7 separate regions of the Homo sapiens genome follow, and regions 1, 2, 3, 4, 5 and 7 are each linked to region 6. Evidence: promoter capture Hi-C in 16 types of primary human blood cells and fetal thymus (Javierre and others, 2016). All regions are on one chromosome and are shown on one strand. Each heading gives the region's core, a stretch centred on a gene start or on the middle of the fragment in contact. The rest is flanking DNA. Distances are from core to core; before and after follow the strand shown.

Region 1 (3,000 bases), core at 454-2,953, 350 kb after region 6:
CATCCAGCATATGGCATTTGGTGACTACTTGGCATCAGTTGATCTAGAGACTATGTAGCAAGTGGCTTCAAGAGGTAATTGTGGCTGGGTGTGGTGGCTCACACTTGCAATCCCAGCACTTTGGGAGGACGAGGCAAGAGGATCGCTTGAGCTCAGGAATTTGAGACCAGCCTGGCCAACATGGCAAAACACATCTCTACTAAAAATACAAAAATTAGCCAGGTGTGGTGGTGCACACCTGCAATCCCAGCTACTTGGGAGGCTGAGGCACGAGAATCACTTCAATCTGGGAGGCGGAGGTTGCGGTGAGCGGAAATAATGCCACTGTGCCCCAGCCTGGGTGACAGAGCAAGATTCTGTCTCAAAAATTTTTTAAAATTAAAAAATTAAAATGGATCACGAGGTCAGGAGATCGAGACCATCCTAGCTAACACAGTGAAATCCCATCTCTACTAAAAATAGAAAAAATTAGCCAGACGTGGTGGCGGGCACCTGTAGTCCCAGCTACTCGGGAGGCTGAGGCAGGAGAATGGCGTGAACCTGGTAGGCGGAGCTTGCAGTGAGCCGAGATCGCGCCACTGGCCTCCAGCCTGGGCGACAGAGCAAGACTCCGTCTCAAAAAAAAAAAAATTTAAAAAGATGCACCTTCTGGGCCAAATGGTCACAGTATGGGCTGGATTTTAGCCCAGTCTTGCCTCCAGTCTTGCACTCTAGCCTGAGCAACAGAGCAAAACTCTGTCTCTCTAAAAAAATAAAATAAAAAGTAGAAGTCTAAAAATTGTTTTTAAATTAAAAAAAAAACAGGAAAAGGAAATTTAAAAAACAATCACTTATTTCTCTATAGTTCTGTTTCCTTGTGCCTGCCTTGCAGAGGAGAACTTTGAAATGACCAATCCGCCAGGCGCGGTGGCTCACACCTGTAATCCCAGCACTTTGGAAGTCCGAGGTGGGTGGATCACGAGGTCAGGAGACTCTGCTCGGCTCATTGGAACACTTATTCTATTTTATGGAATGAAGTGTTTAATTTATTTAGGATATTTAAAGATATTTAAATTTAAGATATTTAAACTCTTAGGTTGGGTGCAGTGACTCATGCCTGTAAACCCAGCACTTTGGGAGGCCAAAGCAGGCGGATCACCTGAGGTCAGGCATTTGAGACCAGCCTGGCCAACATGGCAAAACCCCATCTCTACTGAAAATATAAAAAAATTAGCCGGGCATGGTGGTGTGCGCCTGTAATCCTAGCTACTCAGGAGGCTGAGGCAAGAGAATCACTTGAACCCGGGAGGCGGAGGTTACAGTGAGCTGAGATGGTGCCACTGCACTCCAGCCTGGGTGACAGAGCAGGACTCTGTCTCAAAAAAAAAAAAATTATTACAGATATTGTTTAATATTATATTTATATTATGTAAATAATATATTTAACATTTAAACACAATATATGTATATAATAATATTTATTATATTTCAAGCGCTCGATAGCTACATATATATACATATATGCATACAATAGAACATTCTGCTAAGTGAAATGAGCCAGTCACAAAAGGACAAATACTGTATTAATCCATTTATAAGAGGTTCCTAGCATTGTCAAACTTATAGAGACAGAAAGTAGAATGGTGGTTGCCAGGAGCAAGGCGGGTGATGGGGGAGTAGGGAAGAAAGGAATCAGGGGTTGTTTAATATGTAGACAGTTTCTGTTCTGTAAGATGAAAATGTTCTGGAGTTTAATCCCACAACTATATGAATGCAGTTAATGTTACTGAACTGTACACTTAAAAATGGTCAGGATGATAACTTTTATATTATATTTTACTACAATTAAAAATAAAACATTGTTAAAACAAAAAAAATCTATTTTACTTTTTCTCTTTACTTTTAAAAATGTGCCCAACAGGAAAATTTATTACTACTCATGTGGTATGCATTATATTTCTGTTGATGCTACTCTAGAAAACAGAATTTTGATATCCAAGGGTTTTTTAACAAAGTAACTTGATCATGAGAAATAAAAATAAAATCCTAAACCTCCCAGCCAACTGAATGGGCCCCCTCTTGGCCAACCGGATCCCAGAAAATCTTTAAATGCTGAGCTCCCAGTCATGTTGGGACAGGAGGTCAGACACACCTCAGGAGGCCCCTTCCTTACTAACCTCAGCCAGAATTCTTTCCTAAGGAATAAGCAGAGAGCAGCTCTAGAAAACAAGAAACAGATGAGGCGTGGTGGCTCACACCTGTAATCTCAGCACTTTGGGAGGCTTAGCTGGGAGGATTGCTTGAGCTCAGGAGTTCATGACCAGCCTGGGCAACATAGTGAGATCCTGTCTCTACAGAAAAATTTTAAAAATAACATTAATACAGAAAAAAAGGAAACAAGAAACAAAGAATTCATTCCTTTATCACCTCTAGTCAATCACCTGAGGCCGTGACCAGACTCCCCGTCTCTTTTGCAGTTTCCACACAGCAACTGACCAGCACTCCTTCCTGTTAAGAGGTCACCAACCATAGAGCAGTTCTGGGCAGGGTATAGAGGCTGCAGTGAGGGACAGTGAGCTCTGTGTCCTCTGCTTCACCTTTTGACATCAGAGGGCTGAAAACACCTCCCTCAGATCATGCTAATGTCGCAGTTTTTGGAACATGCAACCCATGAAGAGGCATGAAGTTCAATTGTACATGTGCATGTTTCTTGTTTCATAAATATTCATGAGTCCTTCTATAGCTTACTGCGTATGTATACTCAGCCAACCAGCTCAGCATAAATTTCTGTTTTACACTTCCCATTCTTTTTTTTTTTGAAGACAGAGTCACGGTCTGTCACCAGGCTGGCATGCAATGGTATGATCTCAGCTCACTGCAACCTCTGCCTCCTGGATTCAAGCGATTCTCCTGCCTCAGCCTCTTGAGTAGCTGGGACTACAGGCATGCACCACTATGCCCAGCTAATTTTTGTATTTTTTAATAGAGACAGCGTTTCACCATGTTGGCCAGGAGGGTCTC
Region 2 (3,100 bases), core at 511-3,010, 500 kb after region 6:
TTGGAAGCCAGATTTTCCTTTGGGAAGAACTCAGGTTTGACCTTGACTCAGAGTACGACCTTGGGCAAGTTCTTTCCCCTTTCTGGCCTCAGTTTTGATTGATGGCTGGGTTAGAGCAGGCCTTCATTGAGGCTTCCTGTGTGGTGAATAGAGTAAGCAGGTACTAACAACGGATCTGCCAATGTCAGAAGAGAGAACCGGAAGGAAGCATAGACCATATTGGGAGTCAGTGTGCATTAGCCTTGCCGGGTCCATCCACAGCATTTCTGGTTAGGTTCTGCCTTGTGAGAGCTCTAAACCAGAGAGGGTTGGGTGAAGAGCTCACCCAGACCCAGCCCATACCCTGAGCTTGCTCCAGGAACTGTCTTAGCAATTACCTGCATCTTTTTATTTTCTTTTTCAAAATATGGACAAGCTTTACTGACTTTTGAACTGTTGGGAAAAACTAATGTCTCATTAAAACTGTATTGCTTACTTGTAATGAAAGAAAAAAAAACAGCCCATTAAAGTTTTACACCTGACATGGAAAACTATTAAAGATTCATAATTGCAATAAAACTCTTTAATAGAATTTGAATTTTCCTTGTGATAATGCTGTAGCCAACAGGGACCTCCCTTGAAGCCGCAAGATCCATTTTAACACAGGCTTGGGAGGGTGCTGAAGGCAACTCTGAAATCGGCTTCTTTCGGGCCCTTCCCAGCGTGGCTGGTACAGGTGCACGCGCGGCCTGAGAGGATGGATTCCCGTCTCCCAGCTCAGCCTCGGGATCAGGTTGTTGGCAGCCTTCTCTCCTAACAACTTCTGGCGAGGGAGCTCGAAGCTACTGCCATTCCGCCACAGGTTCTTCCTGCCAGTTCCCTTCATCGGGCACGAATACAGCACCTACTGAGTGCATGGCCTAAAGCCCAGGGCTGGGAGGGGTAAGAAGTAGAGGAAGGGCAGGCTGGCTTTTCTTAAAGGAGAGTGTGGTATTGGTTCGTGCAGGGGCCTTGCTGGCTGGTAGAATGAAGGCCAGATCCCAGCTCTTAATGACTCTACTTCCCGTCCTCGGCTTCCTCATCTGTAAAATGGGATTAAAATATGAGTTTCATGGGTGTGGTCAATGTGTGTAGGTCAGTGGAAGCCAGAGGCAGGGCCCTGGGGAAGGTAGGTGGAAAGGTAGAGGGTGGCGCTGAGAGACACCCTGGAGGTAGAATTGCTAGATTTGGTTGGTGAGTGATCAACAGGTGAATTCAGGGATAAGCATGGCTTTCAAAAATGCATTTATTGCATTTATGGCCCCATGGAGACCCATGCAGTTACTGTATGTTAGCTACTTGTTTATGTGCTTTATACTTGTTCATTCAGTAAATATTTATTGAGCACCTACTATGTGCCAGACCCTGTTTTAAGTGTTGGTGATACACTGGGGAATGTATTAACTCATTTGTCAACCAGGTACTGATATGATCTCTATTTTCCAGAGGAGGTAACAGGCACAGAGAAGTGAAGTCAATTACCCAAGGTCATACAGCAAGTAAGTGACAGAGTGTAGAATTAGTCAGAGACTCCTGGGTCTGTGCTCAGAAACACACACCAGATGGCCACTGGTGTACTTTGCACAACACACTAGCTGTTAGTGGTCTTGTTCCCATTTTGGGAAGGAAGGCTTAGAACAATGAAATTATTTTCCTCAGGTCTCTTGGAGAGTAAGAGGGCTCCGTTAACCCAGCAAGGTCCACTGAGTGTTTCCGCTGTTACGAGGGTCCCCTCTCCTCCTGGGGCTCCTGCGCCTGCCCCAGACCTAAGGGAATTGAATTCTCTGCTTACTGGTGGTTGGCCAATTTCAGGGAAATCGGTATCCTGCCCTTATTGAAGCCCCGCCGTGCTCTTCTCAAAGTGTCTGAACATGAGCCAGTCACTCAGTGGGCTGTGGATGATGGAGGAGTCTTTCCTCTGCCTTAAAATGAAGGGCATTCCATGGTCCACCCTCCACTCCTCCATCAGTGGTGACAAATAGGATTCCCATGGTGACAAATAAAATAAAGCTGCCTTTATTCGTTTATCTTTCCTTGTCCTCCCCATCAGTGCCCTGCAAGCAAGCTGAGCAATATTAGACACTCGATCACACTTGGCACCTGTCTCTCCTATCTCCAGCACGTCCTGTCCCAGTGAGCTCTGGTGGAGGGATATGAGTGTTTCCACGGTTAGCTGTGGGTCTGGGCTTTGCTGTTGCCTTGCTCTGTGGCCCTAGACATGTTCCTGTCCTTTCTGAGCCTTGGATTCTGCATCTATAAGAGACGCCTTGGAAGGCCCCGATGGATACAGCATCTTTGCCTCTATTTTCTGCTTTATTTTCCTGTGCCGTCTAACTCTGAGTTGGTTTCAGTGGGTAGGAAAAAGCCACATTGCAATGAACAAACAAACAGAGCTCTTAGTTTTCTTTGGGAAAGAGTGAGAGTAAGATCTTTAAACATGCTGCCTCCAAATTCACTCACACCAACTGACGGGAAAGGGGAAACAAACAGAAGTGAGAACAAGAGAGGAGGAAGGCCGGGTCCCCCCATCCATTCACTATTTCCTAAGCATCTCCCGCATGCCAGTGCTGTGCTGGGGTGAAGGTGGCATAGGCTGGTAGGAAGAAGATGAGAAGATTAGGCTCAAAGGCTGGTTCATTTGTTTACTTCCAGTACGACCAGTGACCTTGAGCAAGTCCCTCAACATCTCTGAACCTGTCTCCTGTATCTGGAAGAGAAGCACATGAGAAGCCATGGAAAGCCTGATGTGTCTCAGGCTCTGTGCAGGGTGGTTCCATTTGATTCTCACAGCTACCTGGGAACTAGTGGTAGTATCATGCCCATCTTATAGATGACAAAACTGAGACTCAGGTTGTACTTGAGAGCTGTGCGGGGCCACTCAGCTACTATGTCACGGTTGCCTGGCTTTAAAACTAGAGGCTGCAATGTAGGGATGGGACTCCACACTCCACTGGCCACACGGGGTGACACTAGGACACTAGCAGCAGAGAAGACACCAGACTTGGTTGAAAGTGGTTTGTGGACTCTACATCACAGTGATCGTGTAGACAGCTCTTCTGACAGGGCTCCTAGACCTGGGGAA
Region 3 (3,025 bases), core at 68-2,567, 310 kb after region 6:
GCAAAGGGTGGAAGTAAGGGGGCTCATTAGCTGGCCTTTAATAGGGAGACTATCCTGAATCATCCGGGTGGGCCCCATGAAATCACAAGGAACCTTAAACGTGGAAAAGCGGGACAGAAGTAGAGTCAGAGGGAGATTTGACTATGGATGAAAGGCAAGGAGGGATGTGGCATCGATCGCTTTGACCATGGAGGGAGAGGGCCATGAGCCAGGGAATGTGGGTGGCCCCAAGGGGCTGGACAAGGAAAGGAAATGGATTCTCCCCAGAGCCTCCAGAAAGAAAAACAGTCCTGCCACCAAGGGGATTTCGGCTCAGTGAGATCAGTGTCAGACATCTAACTTACAGAACTATGAAATAACAAATCCAGCTGGGTGCAATGGCTCACACCTATAATCCCAGCACTTTAGGAGGCCGAGGCAGATGGATCGCCTGAGGTCAGGAGTTCGAGACCAGCCTGGCCAACATGGTGAAACCCTGTCTCTACTAAAAACAAAAATTAGCCGGGCGTGGTGGCACGTGCCTGTAATCCCAGCTACTGGGGAGGCTGAGGCAGAATTGCTTGAACCTGGGAGGTGGAGGTTGCAGTGAACCGAGATCACGCCATTACACTCCAGCCTGGGCAACAAGAATGAAACTCCATCTCAAAATAAATAAATAAATAAATAACAAATCTGTGGTTGGTTTGGCTTGTTGTTGTTGTTGTTGTTGTTGTTGTTTTTTGGAGACAGAGTCTCTCTCTGTCACTCAGGCTGGAGTGCAGTGGCACGATCTCAGCTTACTACAATCTCCACCTCCCAGGTTCAAGTGATTCTTGTGCCTCAGCCTTTCAAGTAGCTGGGATTACAGGCATGCACCACCATGCCTGGCTAATTTTTGTATTTCAGTAGAGACACAGTTTCGCCATGTTGGCCAGGCTGGTCTCAAACTCCCAGCTTCATGTTATCTGCCCGCCTCGGCCTCCCAAAGTACTGGGATTACAGGCATGAGCCACTGCACCTGGCCCAAATCCGTGGTTTTAAGCCAGTATGTTAGTGGTAACTTGTTATAGCAGCAATAGAAAACTAATACACTGATTTACTGTAATCCCTCCTACGTATGGCTGCAACACACTCCGCATTTCAAAAGCATAAAATACGTGTTTATTCCCTCAAAAAACACGCATCAACCCAGGCTGCTCACAACTGCTACCAAAGCCCCCGCCCTCCAAGGGTAGGATGAAGCCAGACCATGAGACCAGCTGGAGAGAAAAGTCTGGACTGAAATCCCCTCAAGACCAGGGAGGAATGGCAGCAGCACAAAGCCAAACCTACCTGCCTGCAGTTCCAAGTAGAGAAACTGGACAAAAGGATCGAGATCTCCTTGCACCACAGTACAAGGCCCTGTGAGCCACTGGTCAGCAGCCAGGAGGTCTGGGGGGTGGGAGAGATTCCAGCCCTGGGATTCTAGGATCCCAGGTTTCAGCCATGCACTGCTGAGGACTGGATATTTTGGCATATTCTCTATGGCGGCTGCTTAGACAATGAGGCAGGACAGAAGAGATTAAAGCATAAGTGTGTTGTCTGCTGATCCAAAACTCCTGTCACCCCAGTCTAGCTCTGAACAGTACTTGAGTCTTCAAAGCCAAATGACTCACTCCACTTTCCAGGAAATTCCTGGCCTATCCAAACCCTCTCTCTCCCTGCTCCCCCAATGTATCACCAAGCCCTGCCAACTAGGCAAACAAAACATCTGTCCACTCTGTGCCCTCCTGGCATCCTCACCTCTCCCTTGGCCCTCTGCAGTAGCCTCCTAAGTGGCTTCTGCTGCAAACCTACCTTTACTTCTACAATGCATCTTCCACACAGTGGCCAGGGTGCAGATCAGATGACACCAATGCCTTGAGAAAACTTTCAATCGCTTCCTGTTGCTTTGCAAAAGCCAACCTTGTTACCACGTTCTTCCAGCCCTTAGGAAAACTAGCCTCCTGCCAGACTCAGCTTGAGCCCCTCAGCCTCGTTCTATGTCTCACCACACCCGCCTCCTTCAGTCCCTGAACATGATGTTCTCCCCCACCCCAGGGCCTTTGCATATACTGTTCCTCTCTCTAGGACACGTCTACCTAGCTTCACCCAGTTACAGCCCATGCATCATTTGTATCCCAGCTCATGATTCACTTTCCCCAGAGAGGCCTCCTTGACACTCTAAACTCCTAACTGATCAAATCCTCTGCTAAACCTACCATAACTGACGCTCTTCTCCTTAATACTCGCCCAAGCTAAATACCTATGTATGCAATTATTTGATTACATATGCATGAAATTACTTGAATAAAATCTATCTTTTCCACCAGACTATACACTCTCACACTGGTTTGTTCATCACTGAATCCCCTGATCTGATACAAACAGGAGGCACATTAAATACACGTTTGGTGTATAAACAAATTAATAAGATAGGAAAAGGTTCTTTTTCTTTTTTTTTTTTTTGAGACAGCATCTCACTCTGTCACCCAGGCTGGAGTGCAGTGACACTAACATGGCTCACTGCAACCTCCACCTCCCAAGGCTCAAGCAATCCTCCCACGTCAGCCTCCCAAGTAACTGGGATCATAGGCATGCACCACCACACTCAGCTAATTTTTTTTTTAATTTTTTATTTTGTAGAGATGAGGTCACTATGTTGCCCAGCCTGGTCTCAAATTCCTGGGCTCAAGGAATGCTTCCATGTCAGCCTCCCAAAGTGCTGGGATTACAGGCCTGAGCCACTGCACCCAGAGAGGAAAAGGTTCTTTTTTCATACCCTGGGATATCATCTCTGATCTCAAGGGTTCCACAGAATTCTAAATTCCACCTCCTGCCAAAAAGAAATTTATTTTGCTTTTTTTCTCTCTCTCCTGTTTTTTTTTGGAAGTGGTGGGGGACAAGGAGGCGAGGTGGTGAGTGGTGAAAACACAAGCTAGATAGCTTTGGAGTTCAAATTGGAGCTCGGCCTCTCACTAACATGGTAAAGTTGAGGAGGAAACTTAAACCCATGGGCCTGTTTCCT
Region 4 (3,404 bases), core at 649-3,148, 460 kb after region 6:
AAACTCACAGATGGGCTTTCAGAAGGCGGCCTGCGTCTCCTGCTTCTATTGCTTCCACATACCACACTTACACTTCTATCACCCATATTTATTGGAGATGGGGTTGTTAATGTGGCAATGAACCAGTATCCAGAGTGATAGAAGCACAGCTTCCCAGGGGCTTATCTCTTCACTGCAGTTTTCAGATTTCACTGTGGTTTTGTAGAGTCATTTGACTGGCAGGCAAGTCCTATAAAATACTTACAGATAGTGTCATTATTCCGATTTTCCAGAGATGAAAATGGAGGCCTGGAGAGCCTGCATGAATTATCCCAGGTCATACAGCTAGAGAGTGGCTGGGACAGGTCAGGCTCATATCTCAGGCTTATGCCTGGTCCCTTCAGTGTCCCCTGGCTCTGGCTCTTTGGGTCCGGCCCTCGCACAGCCACAGTGGTGGCTCCATCCAGGAGAGACAGCAGAGCCTGCCTGCACACAGCACCAGTCATCTTGGTCAGCATCTGGAATCTGCTCGGAGGAATGATGCGGGCAGGAACAGCTATTTGTAGAACTCAGATGCCCCTTTCACCCCTCCCCGGTCATTTGCCCATGAGCTTTATTGAGAACTTCCTAAGTCTTATTCCACTACAGTGTCCCTGTCCCACGGCCCCTTACTCTGCAGTGAGCAGTTAGACCCTGCTGCAGCAGAAGCAGCCACTCCGCCAAGCTCATGTGTCTCCAGCAGCCACAGAAACAAGATGGGACCTGCCCTTCGGCTCAGGCTGCTACAAGCCTGGAACACAAGGAGCAGGGGCTTTGGGCTCAGCAGCACTGGGTTTGAAGCTTGTTTTTGAAACTTCGTGACTGTGTGACCTTGGGCAAGCCACTTAACCTTGGATGAGTCACTTAAGCTTCCGCATCCATGATTGGAGGATGGTCATGCCAGCCATGTGAGGCTGTTTCGAGGATTAATAATCAAGGCTTATAAGCACAGAGCACAGTGCCTGGACATAGTAATGAATTCCAGCAACAACCGTCAGTTACTAAATGCTGACTAGGTACTGGTATTTTCCCCCAAAATATGTACCAAGTACCTATAATGGGCCTGCTGTGTGTACTGGGGATACAGCAGTGAACAGACAAAGAACAGACAACACCTTAGCCACTGTCAAGGGCTGACGCTCTAGTGTGTTGTGGGGGGACCGTAACGGGCATGAAAAGAAATAATATACAGTCTATTGTAAAATGAGGGAGAACCAAGCAAGGAAAGGGCATGGGAGGGTGGTGTGTGCGTGGGGCAGTGTTAGAGAAGGGGCAGGGACGGCCTCACTAAGAAGGTGACAAAAGAAAGGATCTGAAGCTGACAAGGAAATGATCATACACGGATCCGTCCTATCTGGGCAGAGTGCTCCAGGTGGCTGGAGGCCTCAGGCAGGTGAGCAGGGCCTCTTGAGGAGCAGCAGCAAGACCTGTGAGATTACAGAGGAGTGAGGCAGCAGGCATGGGCAACCAGGCCGAGTCTGGGGACTTTCCTCTGAGTGAGATGGCTGCCATGGCAGAGCTTTGAGCAGAGGAGGGACCAGGTGCATATGAGGTTCCAGCCGGACTGTCCAGGCTACTGGATGGAGGGTAGATGGCAGGAGCAAGGGTGGAAGTTGGGAGCCCACGCATCCTCATCCTCACAACAGCCCTGGATGGCGCTATCAGTTAGGGGTGCTTTTGGCTGTGGATCACAGAAAGCCTGTATTTTAGGAGCACACACATTCAGGTGTTCGCTGTTCTCTTCAGAGGTGTAGGGCTGGGCAGCCCGAGCTCTGGTTTGCTAGGGAGTGAGTCTCTCCTTCCTGTTGTTGGCTCTTGCCTTGGGCTCATTGCTTCACAGCTGCAAGATGGCAGCCACTGCACCTGCCATCACAGCCTCTCACAACCGTGCCCAAAGCAGAGTGGGTGAAGGGAGCAGGAGGCCCTTCTCTTCCTGTGTTCCTGTCTTTTCAGAGTGGGGAATCTTACCCAGAATCCCCTAGCAGACATCCCCCACCATGCCTCTTGGCCAAAACTGGCCCAGAATTACCTACATGCATTCCAGTTCCTGGTATAAGGGAATGGATAACCTAGGCTGGTGTCATCTCCTGGAGCTGCTCCGGCTGCCTCTTGGACCTAGTCGAGGCTCCGTGGCAAGGCAGGAAGGGAGATGGCTGCTGGCTTGGCCACAGGCAGTGCTGGCCCCCGGCAGGTTGCACAATTCTTTTTATAGACTGGGCAACTGAAGATCCGAGAAGCAACAGGGCTTTTCCCAAGGGTGCCCAAGAGTGAGGGGCAGAACCAAGACTTGAACTCAGGCCGGTGAGAGGCAGTGTGGTGCATTGGTTAAATGCCCAGGCACTGCAGGCAAGCCAAGTGGCTGGGTATGTGAATCTTAGCCCCATCATTTCATCCCTCAGTGAGAGTTGAGCCTCAGTTTCCTCATCTGGAAAGTGGGGATAACAACAAAACCATAGAGGAGGAGTGAGGATTCAATGAGGTAATGCATATAAAGGGCTGAGTACGGTGCCTGGGACATAGGAAACAGTACATTTGGTGACCAATTGCCTGAGTTATTATTCTATTAATATTATTAGCAGTAGTGGTGTTATTTTCACTGGGCCCGGCTGCTTCTCACAGTGTCATTTGCTTTCCCATAGATGAATTCCGATTCATGCCAAATGGTGGTTGAATTTTCAGCAAGTGATAGAGGCAGATTACCCTGTGCTTGATAGAACTGTTATTACAGTTCTGTGATAAAGACTCATTTTATTCTGATGTAAAGAATTTATGGGGAGGTGGCGGGGAGGTGGGGAGGTTTGTTTTCATCCTTAGTATTCAGAGTGGGCTGCTGCAGACATGGGCTGCCATCTGCGTGTTCCTGGGCTTGACTGCAAAGATGCCCAAGCTTCTCTTGGCTCTCTCCCTGCTGGGATCTTCATGTCCTGGAGCTGGAAGGGCCCCGGGGTGGGGTGGGGCGGGGGACTGACTGCAGGTCACCCAAGGAGCTGGGCTAGATCCTGGGTGTGTAGACCCCAGGCCGGGCCTGGCTTGTTCCAAGGCCTTAAGGTGCAGCATGGAGTGGGGGCTCTGCCAGGCGTGGCAGGAATGGGGATCAAGGCAGGAGCTGCCTACTGTGTCCTCAGCCAGCCTCTCTGTTCTGTCCCTGATCTGAACCCCACCTTCCTCCTACATCACCACCATCGTAAGACCACCACTTCTCATGGGGGATCTCTACAAAGTCACCCCTCTCCTGCTTCCCGTTTCCAGGAGTCTTCCTGCAGTCCACTTTGGAGCCTGTCACTGTCCTGCTCATAGCCCAGCCTCTTAGCCTGGCTCATGGCACCCTCACCAGGGAGGTGAATCTCAGCCATTTCCCCCACTCTCCTGCCACGCTCTGGCCATAC
Region 5 (2,996 bases), core at 335-2,834, 440 kb after region 6:
CAGTGTCATCAAATCTATCATTATTTTTCAGACATCGGCCGAGTAGGTTTTTAGGAAATGGCTGATTAATCCACCTTGAATTCAGATTTTTCATCTGAGCTTGAATTAAATTGGAAGCCCATCACCTTTTCAACTGAGAATTGTCAAAAAGTGATGAGGCACAGGGATGTCAAGAGTCTGGGAGGAGACTAAATCCCATCAACGTATCTATTCATGGAATGAGAAAACGATATGGATATAAACAGATATTCCTGATGGATCTCTGTGCTTCGGACATCGATCCCAGACAACAAAATGTGCCATTGCAAACCCATTGGGGCTCATCTTGAGTGAATATATTTATGACTCTGAGAATCTTGTTCTTCCTTAAAGAAAAAAAAAGAATAAACAGACAAAACTTAAAAGAACATTTATAAAGCAATTTACTTAAATTATAACAGACTAAAAGCCAGGCTTTGAGGATAATTGAAGAATTGCATTAAAGAGGAATCAATATCTTTCTGGAATCTGTTCTGTCCTTATGAGTTGTTTTGCAAAGGGGTGGACAGCCTATCTGTCACTTTGTTGCAAATTTCTTGTAGCATTATTCCCAAGGTCAGGATTTTATCCCTCTCTTTGAAGGTTTATGTTTTTTTCTTTTCACACAGCCTTAACTCACCCAAACATTTAGAAGCAATGACAGTGGAGAGCAGGGACTTTAAAATGTCAGGTCTTTCTTCCAGCCTCTGAGATCCCGGCATTCGCAGCATGGAAGCAAAGGTTTCCTTCTGCATCCTTACATTGAACCCTCAGAGAAGGTCAAACTCTTAAAAGAGGGTGGAAGGAATGAACAGTTGGTTTTTATATCTTTTTTAAAAAAAACTTTTTCTTTAAATGTTCTTCTTTCCTTAAATACTCTCCTATCCAGCCGTTGGTTTTTAAAAACCTACTTCGTGAGGCCCAAATTAAAGGCATATCTAAATAGCACTAAAGAAAACCAGAAAAGGGGAGAAGACACCCACGTTCCCATCCTTCTAACTGGACATCATACATTTCTCTGCCATCTCCCCTGGCCTTTATCCTTGTGTATTCACATTTCCTCAATTGTCGAATCACCTGCTTCCTTGCATTTCTTTTTGACGTATGTTGTCATTGCGTTTAATGATCCTTATGTTGGGCTGCATTTCAGGGATGGGGTCTTGGATGAGTTCACACCAATGCTCTGTGGTCCACTCGATTTACCCTGGGATGCAGCAGCGCAAGGAAGCGAGGTGGCCGCACAGAGCCGGAGCAGATGGACCGTGTCGTGGCATGGCTGTGTCGCGGGTCCTGGCTCCCTGATGAGCACACAGATGTTGAGGATGCTACTGTGAAGCCACAGTTCTTTGAGAAACAGAATTCTTACCACACCATTGCCCAGTTATGTCATCATTCCAAAATAATATAAGAATAACAATTTTTGGACTTTTGTTTAAGAGAATGTTTACAAATGACATGTGTTCTTAGACCAAACTCAGTAGCTGCAGAGCCTTTCTATAGAGTGGAGGGAGAGAGGTAGGAGGAGAAAGCAGAATGATTGCCCAAGCATCTGTAAAAAGGATCTCCATCTCCAGCTGCATAGAAAAGGTATCTAATTCTAGAAATGTGCTTAGATTTTAGTGTTTATTCACTCAGCAGTGGTTTTATTGAGCATCTACCATGTGAATGGTGTAGTTTAACCCCCGCTTTAAACTTTACATATCTCATTTGCTTATTTACTAATACATTTATAATTAAGATTCTTACTTAAGTCAAAAGTAATGGAGTGAGTTAACCTGAAAAGCACTTCATTAAAAAGGTAGAGGAATCAGAAGTGATCTTGGAAAGTGTGTGTGTGTGTGTGTGTGCACGCGTGTGTGCGTGTGTGTGTGTACGTGTGTGTGCGTGTGTGTGTGTGTGTATGTGTGTGTGGTGCCTTTGATAGGAACAGTATTTATATTGAAATTGAATTCTGAGCCCCCTAGCAACCAAGGCAAAAGGAGAAATTAATGGATTATTTCCATTCTACTAGAGAAATCATTGGTAACTTCAGGAGAGGTAAATTTCCTTATTGGTGTTCAATTCCAAGAAGAAAGCATCCTTTCATTTCTTCACTGTCTCTTTATGTGGAATCTCTTACCATCTCCTATGTTTTCTATTTATTGATACATCTCTGATCAAGCCACAACAATTTCTTGCCTTCCTGGTCAACTGAGAAGAGTGTAGATAATAAAATAATCATTTGCATAAGTAAGTATGTTGAGATATGTACTTTCAGGGACAGAGCATCACGTGCAAAGGCCTGAAGTGGAGAAGAGCTTGGAGTACTTGATCCTATAAGACAGCTCAGGTGGCAGGGCAGGAGATGAGGCTGGCCAGGCATCAGGACCAGGCGCACAGGCCCAAGATGCACTGTGGGGAGTTTTATAGCAGAAGCAATGGGGAGAGTTTGGGGCAGGGAAGGGTCAGAGTCCACGTATGTTTTATAAGGATTCTCTGGTTGCTCTGCAGTGACTGGGCTGAGAGAGGAGGCTGGGAAGCTGTTGCAGTTAGTGGTCCCTGTAAGAGGTAATTAACACAGATGAAAATGGTACAGATGGAAGGAGCTTGGAAGACAGAGTGCTAATTAGGGTTTTACTTTCTCATGACATTAAAATAAGCTACTGGGGCAGAGTCCGCATCACCAATTTCTGTCCTCCCTCAAAGCAGGGCTAAATGGGAAGGGACTTTCCAGTCCATGTGGCTGGACACAGCACCTGCTCGGGGTTCAAGACCCTAAGGGACTTTCTTTTGTTTACATCCTGTGAGGCCCATGTCCTTTTTAAAAACCCTCCCCTGTCTGTCTTGGGCCAAGGTGTAGGATTGGCCTGGTGTTTAAGGGGGTGTGAATCCCCTTAAACTGCTGGTGAGAGGGCAATGGAGAGAAGCGAGGAGAGAGGTATAAAAGCCCTGCCTTTTATCTTCTGTGACCGTGCATAGACACTTCACCACCTAGAATC
Region 6 (3,020 bases), core at 133-2,632:
GATACCAAATGGAGCTTTCAAAGGCCCACATCTGGAGGCAGCAGCTATGCAGTGATTAACATTTTAAACGGTATTTTGAAATGGAGATCATTAGTAACCACAGATGTGATCTGACTCTGTCCCCCAGGTAATCTGTCTATTGTATCTAAATTCCAGACTTAGCCCAGTAGACAGCTTGGGATGTTTAACAGGAATTGTCCAACACCATCCCCAAATCTATTTTTATTCATGGAGTACTCTGACATCATCTCGCTTGGTCTTCCTGATGACTGTAATGCAGATTGGGAACAGAGAAAGCCATAAAGACTTGTATGATGGCCCAAGGCTAAGAAGGGAAAGGGCTGAGACCACACTTCAGGTTTTAGCTTTCAGGTGCAGTGAAGATTGAATGACTTAGCACGAGCTTTCAGCCAGGCAGGCTGCAAAGTGCACCCAAGTTCTTTCAGTGATCGACACTTGCGACTTAGGTTGAGATAGTTTTCATCCTCCCTGAGCCTCAGTTTTCCCATCTGTAAAAAATAAACATTGCCTGCCTCGGAGGGTGGAGGTGGAAGTGGAATGAAGCCACATGTAACTCCTAGCGCTGTGCCTGAGACAGTAGAGGTTCAATTATAGTAGTCACATACACACACAACACATACATACACAAGACACAACACACCACACACAACACATACATACACACCACACACAACACTTACATACGCACCACACTCGGCATGCATTGCAGATCACAAATGCACACCACACACACACTGCATACATATACCATAGAGAACACACAACACCTACACATACCCCCATACCACAAATACACACACACTACATAGTACACCACGCAGAACACACACAGCCCCCATATTCCACACCACACCATCTCACTGCCAATTCCTTCCCCTCTTCATGAGTTTTACGGCAGGTCCAGGTTCATCTGCCAGTTTAACAGATCCCAAAACTTCTGCAGGAGTGTTTGTTCAAAAGATTGATATTTCCAGATTCCTGCTTTCTGACAGTATCTTTGAACCCCAAATTTCATACTGCCATGAGCCAGTCCCCCTTTGGAGAAATATCTCCATTTGTGTGCCCTTTTTCCCCCAGGGAACCTGCAGCATGTCCCTTTTTCAGCAGTAGCCTATCAAACCGAACCCTTTGGAGTTATTACACTGCAGTCCGAGGGATCCGGCCTCCCTGAGACCCAGCAAGGACTCATTATCTGGGGAGGTCTTCTGAGCCACAGGCCTCGCTGAAAGAAGGTGCAGCTTCTTGAACAGGAAGGCGTTTTGTGGCAGAGTCTAAACGAAACAGAAGTTGCTTTGTGTGTGCGCACGCATGCACACACACACACACACACACACACATACACACACACAGTCGGGGAACCGTCATTTTCCTACGCGCCCTCTGACATCAGCCACCTTCTCTGTAGCTAGTTTCTCTGCACACAACTTAATCCCTGGCAATGAAAAATGAACCTCTCCCCCACCCTTGCTGCCGCCTCTCGCCTCACGCCCCCAGAGAAGAGTTTCTCCACCAGGCAGCAGGTGAAGGTTTTTTTCCAAGTCACATGATTCAGGATTCAGGGGGAGAATCCTTCTTGGAACAGAGATGGGCCCAGAACTGAATCAGATGAAGAGAGATAAGGTGTGATGTGGGGAAGACTATATAAAGAATGGACCCAGGGCTGCAGCAAGCACTCAACGGAATGGCCCCTCCTGGAGACACAGCCATGCATGTGCCGGCGGGCTCCGTGGCCAGCCACCTGGGGACCACGAGCCGCAGCTATTTCTATTTGACCACAGCCACTCTGGCTCTGTGCCTTGTCTTCACGGTGGCCACTATTATGGTGTTGGTCGTTCAGAGGACGGTAAGTGGACTCCTCTTCCTCCCTTTCCTTTTCTTGTTGTTTTCCCGAGAGAAAGAGCCCTGGGAACAAATGATATTCGTTTGTTGGTTAAGAGCACAAAATAAAATTAAATAAATAAACTCTCTCTCTCTATATATATATATATACTATAGTATATACTGTATAACGTAATACACTTATGTTACATAATATATATTATATTATACAGTATATATTATATATATATATATATATGAGAAAGGGAGAAAAGAAAGAGGAACTTAACTCTCTAAAATAATTTGGCTTGTTGAGAAAAATATTGTTAGACCATCATCTTAAAACTTTGCAGATCTGTCTGAGCAAAACAGTGGAGGGGAGCTATTGGCCTTTTAAAGTTAAGATTTAAATCTTAATGAGCCAGAGACCCATATCAAGGAAGGAAGCAATAGAGAAACCTGATAACACATTTGCACAAGTTGTTATCATGTCTTCAAGGACTTCAGACTGGATTCTGAGGTTCTATATCCTAAGTCTGAGTGTCCTGGAGGTTTCTGAGGCCTCACCCATTGCCAAGAGTTTTGTTTTTGCTTTTGTTTTATACAAGGAGCTAAGTTTCAGAGGCCAAGGTCTAGAAGGAAAGGAGGCGAAAGAGAAGACCATGGCTTCTTAGAGCTTTGGACATTTTGGTGTTAAAGCCAGCAAGACAAATCGAAAGCTTCCTCTTAAGCCACAACTTTGAAGAAGTTAGGGCGTCACAAAAAAAAAAAAAAAAGAAACAGCACATAGAAGCAGAAAGTTGAAAGGTTTTTAGCACCTGTTCTCTCTGATGTTCCTCACAATACTAAGCAATCGTTGGGTACACACTGTACAGGGTCAGACTGTCTTCGGAGATTTACTTTGAAGTAAATGGTAAGATTTGTTTCTGAAAACAGAAGAGGAGGAGAAAGAGGAAGCTTCTTCATATTTTAGAAAATTGGTGTTTACAGAGAATCTACCAGTATATATTATATAGAAAATGCTGTAGTAATAGCATATATTGCTCATGAATTTTTTGATGAAGTTGTTAATGGGTAATTTAAGAGCTGCACCCACCCACATGACCTGCCAAAGTGAGAATATTTCTGTTTCTTACTTCATAGTGCCTACTTTTCGTGGTATTATAATCCTGCTGAATTTA
Region 7 (3,024 bases), core at 514-3,013, 410 kb after region 6:
GCTTGAATCTGAGAGGCAGAGTTTACAGTGAGCTGAGATTATGCCACTGCACTCCAGCCTGGGCTACAAAGCAAGACTCCATCTCAAAACAAACAAACAGAAACAGAAACAAAAACAAAACAAAACAAAACAAAAAAAACAAGCCAGTCACAAAAGGCTACATATTGAATCACTCCATTTGTATGAAATGTCCAGAATAAGCAAATCTCTAGACACAGTAAGTAAGTGGCATTTTAGGGCTGGGGGTTGATTATGGGGGATGATGGCTAGAGGGTATGGGGCTTCTTTTGGGGGTGATGAAAATGTTCTAGAATTGATTGCACAACTGGGAATATATCAAAAACCATATAACTATACACTTTAAGTGAGTAAATTGTATGGTACTTGAACAATACTCCAATAAAACTGTTACAAGGAAAAGAAAAGCAATTGAAGGCTGCGTTTTTCTAATTCATGTTATCAGTTCATCCTGCAGAAAGTGTGATTTCAGCTCCCATTTATTCGAGGCATCTCCTATCTCCCAGGCAAAGGTGTTAATTGTGACATCAATTGGATGACAAGGGATGTGTAGACCAATTGCTCCCGTAGCCCCAGCCAATTGCCAGCGAACTGACAGGCAAGTGAGTAAGGGCTTCCTAGATCATTCAGCTACCAGCTGAGCCTCCAACTGACCGCAGACCCATGAAAAAGCTCAGCTGACTCACAGAAGTGTGAGCTAAACCGGTGATGGTTAGACAGTGCATTTTGGGATGGTTTGTTACATAGCAGAAACCAACGGACACATGTCTGGTACAAATGTGTAAGAGTTTCCTCCAGGAAATATACCAAGATACGGAGCCACCAGGTCTAGAGTTGGCATTTTTTCAAGCCTACTAGATGCTGCCAAGCAGCTCTCCACAGTGGTCCTGCCAATTTATACTCCCACCAGCCCTGTAAGCACATTCCTTTTGCACCACAACCTTGCCAATACTTGGTAATGTCAGTTATTTTGATTTTGCCAATCTGGTATGTGCGAAATGGTATCTCAATGTTGTTTTAACTTGCAACTCTCTGATCACAAGTGAGGCTGAATATCATTTCTGAGGTTTACTGGTTGAATGAGGTTTCTGAAAAAAAAAAAAAAAAAAAAAAAAAAGAAGACCTTGGTCAGATCTGTGTTTCTGTGTTTCTCTCCCTTCTTGAACTGGCACACTCCCAGACACAAATTAGTCTTCACTTCCGGAGTCCCCTTCCCAACTATTTTACCTGCCTTCTCCTTAAGACTCAGTGCAGGCATTCACTCCTCCAGGAAGCTTTCCTGACTTCCAACCTCCACATTGGGTCAGGTGCTCCCTCTGTGCCCCATCTACCTTCCTCTATTGGAGCACCCACCTCATTGTATTGCAGTTGTCTAACTCTTCCTCTAGAGCAGGGATATTCAATAAAAGTTTGTTGTATGACTGGATGAAACCCAAGCTTTGCCTTTTAAAAGCTTAGCCTCCCAGCCTCAGTTTCCTCATCTGTTGAATGGGGATGATACAGGAATTCTTGGAGAATTGACATGAGTCTTAAATGAAGAAAGGAACATAATGTATCTGATAAAGTAAGCTCTCAGTAAATTGAAGCAAGTATTATTTAGAATAAGGAGGTCTCAATGTTTTTGGTCATGGACCACAGAATTTAGAAAAATGAAACATTGATACGCACACAAGCACAGATACGGTGCACAATTTCTGAGACGTCACAGGTGCTCTGAAGTCATGATCCCCACATTAAGAACCTGTAATCTATAGATATTTATAAATGTCAATTATTTTTACCTTTATGCCCACCATTAGCACCTAATAAATGTTCAGTAAGACAGTGCTGATGAATGAGTTAATTTTGTAAATGGATCAGCAGCCACCCCTGCCCCATGAAATTCCTCAGCCAGTGAGGCTCTTAGCCCATGGTCAGGCTTTCGTTGTCCATCACCTAAAAGGAAAGAGGACTCCCAGACAGTGGAGTGACCTTGGCTTTTTCTGACAAGCAAAAACAATGGCACAAAGCCTTTGCCACATGACCAGCAAAAGCTTCCACAGTCTCCCTGGGCCGGCCACCCTTCCTAACCTCCTCACAGTCCAGTAAAAAATCCTCATTTTCTCCAACTCCAAAATCAGATTCTGAAAGGCAACTGCAAACTCCTTCTTGCTACAGTGCCTTTTAATTAGACAACAAAAAGCCCTGGAGATCATACTGCTCCCTTGTAACGGTGTGTTCCAGAAAATTACTGCCATTGGATTAAATTAAAGAAAGGTTATTCAAGTGACTCGTTAGGCACATTCCAACAGTGTTAGGATAGCACCAGGGCTGTTGTTGCTGTTTTTGTTTTTTTGTTTTTTGTCATGCACAGAGCAAGGAACAAATGCACGTCCTTATGGAAGGTTTTTCATGACACAAACTAGTTCTCATAGAATAGTTAGGATAGGAGAGCCTGAGAAGTCGTGCCTGGAATTGGGACATAAAGATTTTCACCAATTGGAGCTGGAGGAGGAAGCATCTAACATTAGTTGGGAATATACATACTATTATGGGCTGAATTATGTCCTCCCTTACCTCATATTCATATGTGGAAGTCCTAATCCTGAGGACCTCAGAATGTAACTATATTTGGAGATAAGGCCTTTAAAGAGGTAGTTATGATGTTTTAGGGTGAGCCTTAATCCAATATGACTTATAAGAAGAGAAAATTTGGACACAGACATGGGCACATAAACAGGCAAAAGACCATGTGAAGACACAGGGAGAAGGCTGTCTACAAACCAAGGAGAGAGGGCTCAGAAGAAACCAACCCTGTTGACACCTTGATCTTGGACTTCAAGATTCTAGATTTGTGAGAAAATAAATGTCTGTTGTTTAAGTCACCCAGTCCATGGTATTTTGTTACGGCAGCCTGATATGGTTTGGATCTGTGTCCCCACCCAAACTTCATGTTCAATTGGAATCCCCAATGTTAGAGGTGGGGCCTGGTGGGAGGTGATTGGATCATCCGGGTGGATCCTTCGC

The links. The method cuts DNA at HindIII sites, captures the fragments that hold promoters and counts their contacts. A CHiCAGO score of 5 or more calls a contact.
Region 1: a contact is called between a fragment that was not itself captured here and the fragment with the promoter of TNFSF8 in region 6, in 2 of 17 cell types (total B cells and activated CD4 T cells). The highest score is 6.0, in total B cells.
Region 2: a fragment that was not itself captured here is called in contact with the fragment with the promoter of TNFSF8 in region 6 in 12 of 17 cell types (naive B cells, total B cells, endothelial precursors and 9 more); the score reaches 10.2 in naive B cells.
Region 3: a fragment that was not itself captured here is called in contact with the fragment with the promoter of TNFSF8 in region 6 in 8 of 17 cell types (naive B cells, activated CD4 T cells, non-activated CD4 T cells and 5 more); the score reaches 9.6 in naive B cells.
Region 4: a contact is called between a fragment that was not itself captured here and the fragment with the promoter of TNFSF8 in region 6, in 1 of 17 cell types (naive B cells). The highest score is 5.1, in naive B cells.
Region 5: a contact is called between a fragment that was not itself captured here and the fragment with the promoter of TNFSF8 in region 6, in 11 of 17 cell types (monocytes, naive CD8 T cells, fetal thymus and 8 more). The highest score is 7.2, in monocytes.
Region 7: a contact is called between a fragment that was not itself captured here and the fragment with the promoter of TNFSF8 in region 6, in 4 of 17 cell types (fetal thymus, naive B cells, total B cells and 1 more). The highest score is 7.7, in fetal thymus.

What each region holds. Positions count from the first base shown.
Region 1 is chr9:114,576,758-114,579,757 of GRCh38, reverse strand. No RefSeq gene overlaps it. Among named protein-coding and RNA genes, the nearest start is that of ATP6V1G1, 9.5 kb to the left of the region's middle. The HindIII fragment of the contact is 3,671 bases long and covers 1-3,000 here.
Region 2 is chr9:114,430,990-114,434,089 of GRCh38, reverse strand. The region is part of intron 3 of WHRN (whirlin); the gene reads left to right. Among named protein-coding and RNA genes, the nearest start is that of AKNA, 45 kb to the right of the region's middle. The HindIII fragment of the contact is 2,686 bases long and covers 418-3,100 here.
Region 3 is chr9:114,620,787-114,623,811 of GRCh38, reverse strand. All of the region lies in intron 2 of TMEM268 (transmembrane protein 268), which reads right to left. Among named protein-coding and RNA genes, the nearest start is that of TMEM268, 11 kb to the right of the region's middle. The HindIII fragment of the contact is 3,669 bases long and covers 1-3,025 here.
Region 4 is chr9:114,470,389-114,473,792 of GRCh38, reverse strand. The region is part of intron 2 of WHRN (whirlin); the gene reads left to right. Among named protein-coding and RNA genes, the nearest start is that of WHRN, 33 kb to the left of the region's middle. The HindIII fragment of the contact is 2,018 bases long and covers 890-2,907 here.
Region 5 is chr9:114,488,386-114,491,381 of GRCh38, reverse strand. All of the region lies in intron 1 of WHRN (whirlin), which reads left to right. It overlaps LOC124902254 (a long non-coding RNA gene), which reads left to right. Exons shown (of 2, transcript XR_007061743.1): 2 at 32-407. Among named protein-coding and RNA genes, the nearest start is that of WHRN, 16 kb to the left of the region's middle. RefSeq lists an enhancer at 2,630-2,689. The HindIII fragment of the contact is 4,875 bases long and covers 1-2,996 here.
Region 6 is chr9:114,928,953-114,931,972 of GRCh38, reverse strand. It overlaps TNFSF8 (TNF superfamily member 8), which reads left to right and starts at 1,382. Exons shown (of 4, transcript NM_001244.4): 1 at 1,382-1,864. The coding sequence starts at 1,670. RefSeq lists an enhancer at 1,729-2,288. The HindIII fragment of the contact is 2,687 bases long and covers 1-2,560 here.
Region 7 is chr9:114,514,741-114,517,764 of GRCh38, reverse strand. No RefSeq gene overlaps it. Among named protein-coding and RNA genes, the nearest start is that of WHRN, 11 kb to the right of the region's middle. The HindIII fragment of the contact is 580 bases long and covers 1,474-2,053 here.